2 separate regions of the Homo sapiens genome follow, and region 2 is linked to region 1. The links are contacts of gene promoters, found by promoter capture Hi-C in human tissues and cell types (Jung and others, 2019). All regions are on one chromosome and are shown on one strand. Each heading gives the region's core, a stretch centred on a gene start or on the middle of the fragment in contact. The rest is flanking DNA. Distances are from core to core; before and after follow the strand shown. Region 1 holds the start of MAPKAPK5 (MAPK activated protein kinase 5). Region 2 holds the start of HECTD4 (HECT domain E3 ubiquitin protein ligase 4).

Region 1 (3,402 bases), core at 419-2,918:
ATCGCCTGAGCCCAGGAGGTCTAGGTTGCAGTGAGCTGTGATCACGCCACTGCACTCTAGACAGTGGGACCGTTTAAAAAAAAAAATCCATCTTCTCTACACCTTTACCGCCACCTCCTTAGTTCAGACAGTGTAATAATCTCTCATCTGCATTATTCTCCAATAGCCTCCTAATAGCTCTGTTTCCATTCTTGCTTTCCTATATTCTATTCTCTACAAAGCAGAGTGATCTTTTAAAACAAATTTGTTCACATCACTCTTTACTTTAAAACCTTACAATAGCTTAGAATAAAATCCAAAGTCCTGATTATGACCCCCAAAGGCCACATATGATGCAGCCCCTGCCCACATCTCCAACCTCATCCTTTTTATACTTTTTTTTTTCTTTTTTTGAAATAGAGACGGGGTTTCGCCATGTTGGCCAGGCCGGTCTCGAACTCCTGACTTCAAGTGATCCGCCCGCCTTGGCCTCCCGAAGTGCTGGGATTACAGGCGTGACCCACCGCGCCCAGCCTCCAACCTCACCCTTTATCAGTCTCCTCCTACTCGATCTACTCCAGCTACAATGACCTTCTTGCTGATTCTTGAACATATTTAGCTTATTTCCACCTTAAAATTTCTACCCATCTGCCCAGAAATCTTTCCTTGGATTTCCAATAGCCAGCCCTTTCTCATTCCTCAGGGGTCTCAGCTTAAATGTTACCTCCTGAGATTCCTTCCTTAATCATCTAATACGAAGAAGTCCCCACATCCAGTTATTCTCTTACCTCAGCATCCTGTTTATGTTCTTCTTAGCATCAGACTCGGGCTTTTTCCTGTTTATTACCTACTTCGTTTTCCTGAAAGATCCATGTGCCGGTACCATGTGTTGTTCCTACTGTTTCTCCAATGTCTAGTAGATTTGGCACATACTGATGTGCAATTAATACGTGAATGAAGAACCATTGACAGACGATTAGTCAAAAGCTCTTGCAAAGCCCTTTGATAGGTTATCGGTGGAGAGTAGGGAGCACAAACCTGGGGTCCCATTCTAGCTTGACCACTTCTCGGCTGTGCACAAACTAGTCTAGCTCTCCTGAGCCTCAGTTACCTATTTTGCAAATTAGGGATGGGAACATCCATACCTCACGACGCCAAACGGCTACCTTGTAAAGACGAAAGGAGGAAATGCAGGAAATAACTCCACGTAAGGTTAATGCTCCGTAAACAGAGCTGCTACTGCTATTATATATTCTATACAATCCTGCGCCCTTAACGGCAGGACCCTTTCAGTGCTTCAGTCCTGTCTTCTCTCTCCTGGGTTGACCTCCACAGATCCTCTCAGAAGAGCGTTTTCCAGGCGTGAATCTCCGCAGAGTGGAGATAAAGGCTGAGGCCCCAACGCACGCGCACTCACGCGAGTCCGGGCCTATGACGTCATTAGCGCAGCGCCATCGCCGCGGAAGGCCCAGGGGCCTGTCCTGTATGCGGCGTGTCTTAGGGAGGCCCAGGCGGACGCCTGCAAGTCGGGTGCGCGGTTCGGGGGCGGCTCGGAAACCCCAGCGGAAGGCAGCAAGGGGCGCGTGGGGCCGTGGAGTCACGAAGCTGGGCGGCAGGAGGGGCGGCCTGGAGCTCCCGCGGGGCACAGCGCGTGCGTGAGGGCGGCCGGCGGGGCTGCCCGGCGCGGGTGTCCCGGCGATGTGTGGCGCTGAGGCGGCGGCGGGAGCAGCGGCGCCGAGCTCTGCTTCGGCTTCGGCTTCGGCTTCGCGGCGGTGCAGGCGGCGGAGGCGGAGGCGCAGGCTCTTCTTTAGGACCTGGCGAGCCCAGGTCTAAGCGGCGGCCCCGCGAGGCCCTTGCACGGCGCCCCGGGTCGAGGCCCTCCCCGCCTCGCCCTACCCCAGGAGCCTGCCTCCCCAGCTGGGGATGAGGCTAGGAGGCGGCCGCGTGGGGCCCAGCACAAAGACCTGTCCCCAGGGGCCGCCGCCTCCGCCGCTGCTGCTGCCGCCAGCCTAGAGCCGCCCGCCGAAGCAGAGCCGGCGCCGGGGTCCTCATCCCCACCGGTCCCGAGGGGCGGCTGCTGCCCGTCGCCACGAGGCCCAGGGGCCCGAGTGCCGAGCCCTTTGCTCCCTCGGCCGCGCGGGGACAGGGCTGCTGAGCAGCCTCCGCCTCTCCCGGCTGTGGGGGCCCCACTGAGTATGTCGGAGGAGAGCGACATGGACAAAGCCATCAAGGTAAGGGGGAGGTGCCCCCTCTTCCCCCGCGTTGTCCTGTGGCGTTCTTCTCGGCTCTAGCCTCAAAAAGCAGGGAGATTTTGCAGTGAGAGGTTCCATCGACTACCGGGTTTCGGCCTCCCCCGGATTCCGTGGATCGCGCTTTACAGCCCTGGGGCCAAGGGTTATGGGTGTGGGTGTAGGTGTGTGTCCGACTCCCGCCAGCTTCCCTGGTGAGTGTGATTTGTGCTCAGCTGGAACAGAGGTGAGTGGCCTGGAGACACTATTAAGTGTCAATGAATGGGACGAAGAGAGCCCTACTACTACTACTACACGTTTCGATCACTCCCCAAGGCCGCCAGCATTTGCTTCCGGATGGTCTACAGAACTTGGAGAGTTGGAATTTATCCATCCCTCCCGATTTGTTTGAAATCAGCCTTCTGGAAATCTGCAGTTGGAAAAAGGTGGTTCGCCGTACAAAACCTGTCCTTTGGGGAATAGGTTGTCCTCACTTTTCCGTGTATTCTCCCCTTTTTCTTTTTCCTCTTCTTTCTCCTAGGAAGCATTGAGTTTACTTAGGAAAAGTTAACAGTTCCTGTGACTTAACTGCACTTAAACCAAAAGAAAAGCAAATGTGTGTTCGAAAATTACACAAATAAAATAAGTTTTCTAAAACCTGTTTTTAACTTTTTTTTTTTTTAAAGGCACATTTTGCCCACTCAGGGCCAGTTATCTGTCTTGACAGCTGTAGCTAAGAAATTAGTCTTATGAAAATTAAACATTGACGCTTAAAGTTTGATGTATTATTTACTTATTTGTAGTGTTAAGTCAGCCCAGTGCATTGAATAATTTCATTTTATCTTGAAGGACAGGCATCTATTGGCAGCTTGGGGTTATTTTCCCCTTCAAGACAGTTACTAGTAATGATTAAGAATTTACATTTCTACCAATTCTTTAGGTGGTGTATATAGTTTCTCAAAATCATCAAGTCATTCCAAAGAAACTTAACCCTTTAAAGGAGGCATCAACATATAACATATACATTAAGGAAGACCAGGTTTTTTGTCTGTTTGTTTGTTTTTGAGACGGAGTCTCACTCTGTCGCCCAGGCTGGAGTGCAGTGGCCCGATCTTGGCTCACTGCAAGTTCCGCCTCCTGGGTTCACGCCATTCTCCTGCCTCAGCCTCCCGAGTAGCTGGGATTACAGGCGCCC
Region 2 (3,402 bases), core at 657-3,156, 540 kb after region 1:
GATTCCACTATCATAGCATAATACCCCTTGAGTTTTCAGGCAGATAAGACACTCAGACACACCTTGCTTGTTATAGAACAGGCCCAAATGAGACACAATAAAACGATGATTCCATGTTAGGAATTCCCTACCAACCATATCCTCCTCTTTTTGGTGACTAGATTGTAAAATAAGTCAATTAAGAGTTCATAACGGAAGTGCTGAAGCAACCGCAAATCCAGACACAAAAATACAGTGGAACGTATTCGCATCTCAAGCACGTCCAAATGTCTCGGCCAATGTGATCCGATCACTGCCGTTTCCAGAAACACACAGTAATGGCTTTTAATTCATTTCTATAAATGTTCGTTGTGCGTAAAGCCAAACTGCACGCAAAACCGCAAAACACAAAAGATCCCTCGCATGCCGTTTATAGCCAGAAGATAGGCCATCCTCTCTGCGCCCTACCCCAGAAAGCTCTCCTTACGGCAGTAAAAATTTGATGACACCCCATGCTACCTACACATCAAAATGTCATCCCACAAAGTGGAAGGGGAGCAGTGTCAGCATCCGTTGGCCTCCATGAAACGACACTGCCAGTATTCCCACCTCTAGGCAAACACGAACCCAAGTGAAGTCGATGGAAAGTTCCCACCAACCAGGCATATTTGGTTCCCTTCTGCCCCCAAGGCCAAGCAGCTCAACTGATGAGATCTGCTGTTGCACCTGCCACGGCTCTGAACCCGGGATGCTTGGCGACCCCCGGGGCACACAAAAAGGCCCTGCGGCCTAACGCGCCAGTGACCCTTCCCCGAGAGTGCATGGAGGGCCGCTGGAGCATCCCTCTCGCTGTCCACAGCGCCCGCTTCCCTGACAAAGGCCCCGTGTCAATCCATCCGAGACACAACACAGAGAAGTTGCTGGATTGCCCATCGCGGACCCGCAGCTGCCACTACCCTCTCCCGGAAAAAAACCAAACCAAACCAAACAAAAAAAACAGAACTAGGGAAGAAAAGGATGGGAGGGTACACAGCGTGAAAATCAAAATGTTCCCAAAGCTAAGCAACCTGGGTGTGCCCTGGAAGTGGGTCCTGGGGGCCCGTGGGGGAGGGGAGGGAGGGCCCGGGTGGTGGCGGTGGCTCCTCTGGGGCATGAAGGCCGAGCCAGGCGCTAGCCTAATAAAATGCCGGGTGTCGGAACGCTCAAAAGAAAACCACAAATGAAATCCCCTGCGGGCGCCAGGCCCCGAGGAGGGAGGGAGGGAGAGCGGGGCGGGCGGTCCGCAGACCTGCGGCCGCGGCCCCACCTGCCCGCCCCGCGCCCACACACACCTGCCCCGGCAGCCGCCGGGAGGCGAGGCCGCGGCTGAGGCGAGGAGGGGGCCCGACCCGGGGGTGCCGGGCGAGTGGGTCAGTCCGATGGCGGGGGCCGGGGGCCGCCTCGCTCACCTCCAGGTCGGTGTCCGCGGCCTCTGGGGCCCCGAGGATCTCGCTGGGCAGCTCGGCCAGGTCGGTGACCCGGATCAGCCCGTCGTGCAGGAAGATGGTCTCTTCCTTCACCGAGAGCCACTGCGCCGAGTCAGCGGCCGCCGCCGCCGCCGCCGCCGCGGCCGCCGACGAGCCCATGGCCCCGGCTGAAGGCTTGGCGCTGAGGAGCAGACGCCCGGCCGGGGGAAACGGAGCAGGAGCCGCCGCGATCACCAGTCCATGGCAGCGGCCGCCGCGCCCGCCAGCGGCGCCCCACTTGCTGCCTCGCCCGTGCAACTCCGCCCTAGGCGGTCCGAGTCGCCATACCCCCGACCCCGGCCCGGGAGACCCCGGCCCTGCCGCCGCCGCCGCCGCCGCCGCCGCCGCCGCCCTCAGGAGCAGGATCCGCCTCTGCCGCTCGGCAACCAACTGTCAGTGAGACGCCATGTTGGGGGCGGGGCTCCCGGCATGCCTCGCGGAGCGGACAATACAGGCCCCGCCCGCCGCTCCGCCCACCGCTCCGCGGACGAGGCCACCCGGGTGGCCTGGACGTCCGCCTAGCCCTTCGCTGCCGCCTGCCCTCGGCCTGACCTCCGCCGGCCCCTTCTCCCCCTGGCCATTCAGGGTAGCCCTGGCTTTGCAGCGCGCCAGGGAAGAGGACGCCGCTTCCCCCGTCCTGTCCCTACTCAGGTGTGCACCCCTTGCTCGGGCCCGCGCCCCCACCCTGGGCAGAGCATAGAGATCACTCCTTGTTTTCACGTTTAAATGAGATGCAAGCAAAAGGCTGGCGCAGAATAGGCGCTGCACACTTGTTCATAAGCACTTGGTAGAATCACATAGTAGATGATTAATATTGACTGAAAAGTCTAGTACCCAGTAAGCACTCAAAACCTGGTGAAAATAAAGCGTCTGTCCACAATGCTTGGTGCTCAATGCCCGACACTTAATATGTGCTCCATGAGTGGCAATTCTAATTATTGCTATGTTCGTTCCATCAGTGTTCCACACTAATTGACATACACCTTAAAAATATGCTCACTAGGCCGGGTGCGGTGGCTCACACCTGTAATCCCAGCACGGAGGTCAAGGCAGAAGGACTGCTTGAGCCCAGAAGTTTGAGGCCAGCCTGGGCAACATAGGGAGACCCCATCTCTACAAAAAATAAAAATTAGCGGGGCAGGGTGGCAAGCGTCTGTAGTCCTGCTACTCGGGAGGCTGAGGCAAGAGGATCTCTTGAACTCAGGAGGTGGAGGCTGCAGTGAGCTATTATCTTGCCACTGCACTCCAGCCCGGGCGACAGAGGGAGACCCCATCCCTCCCTCCCCACCAAAAATATATATATGCCCACCAGTGCCATTTTATAAAAACAAGAAAGGAAAACTATATGTATAAAGAACAATGCATGAACAAATACACACCAGATGTTTAAGGTGAGTTGCCATGGGAGTGTGGGGCTGGTCTGGAACTACTGAGATGAGATTGTTCTCTATTACTTGTATATTTTTATCACTTAAAAAATAATAAAACAGGCCGGGCACAGTGGCTTACACCTGTAATCCCAGCACTTTGGGAGGCCAAGGTGGGCAGATCACCTGAGGTCAGGAGTTCGAGACCAGCCTGGTCAACATGATGAAACCCTGTCTCTGCTAAAAAAAATACACAAATTAGCCAGGAATGGTTGCACATGCCTGTAGTCCCAGATACTCAGGAGGCTGAGGCAGGAGAATAGCTGGAACCCAGGAGGCGGAGGTTGCAGTGAGCCGAGATCATGCCACTGCACTCCAGCCTGGGCAACAGAGCAAGACTCCATCTCAATAATAATAATAATAATAATAATAACAATAACAATAACAGGAGAACATTAAGGTGCATACCCTTTGATCCAGCAATTCAACTTTGAGGAAGTTGTCTGAAGGAAATAATCAGACTCGTAGTCAAGGATGGATATACAGGGTTG

The links. Contacts are between HindIII fragments. The study calls those that stand out against the background at their distance.
Region 2: a contact is called between the fragment with the promoter of HECTD4 here and the fragment with the promoter of MAPKAPK5 in region 1, in 2 of the 25 tissues and cell types used here (lymphoblastoid cells and stomach).

The regions. Positions count from the first base shown.
Region 1 is chr12:111,840,560-111,843,961 of GRCh38, forward strand. MAPKAPK5 (MAPK activated protein kinase 5) reads left to right here and starts at 1,669. Exons shown (of 14, transcript NM_003668.4): 1 at 1,669-2,210. The coding sequence starts at 2,175. MAPKAPK5-AS1 (MAPKAPK5 antisense RNA 1) reads right to left here and starts at 2,446. Exons shown (of 2, transcript NR_015404.2): 1 at 768-2,446. RefSeq lists enhancers at 1,245-1,524, 2,255-2,354 and silencers at 1,555-1,734, 1,815-2,164. The HindIII fragment of the contact is 25,902 bases long and covers 1-3,402 here.
Region 2 is chr12:112,380,525-112,383,926 of GRCh38, forward strand. HECTD4 (HECT domain E3 ubiquitin protein ligase 4) reads right to left here and starts at 1,907. Exons shown (of 76, transcript NM_001388303.1): 1 at 1,428-1,907. The coding sequence starts at 1,604. RefSeq lists enhancers at 1-365, 1,551-2,050 and silencers at 1,058-1,547, 1,558-1,827, 1,938-2,227. The HindIII fragment of the contact is 28,101 bases long and covers 1-3,402 here.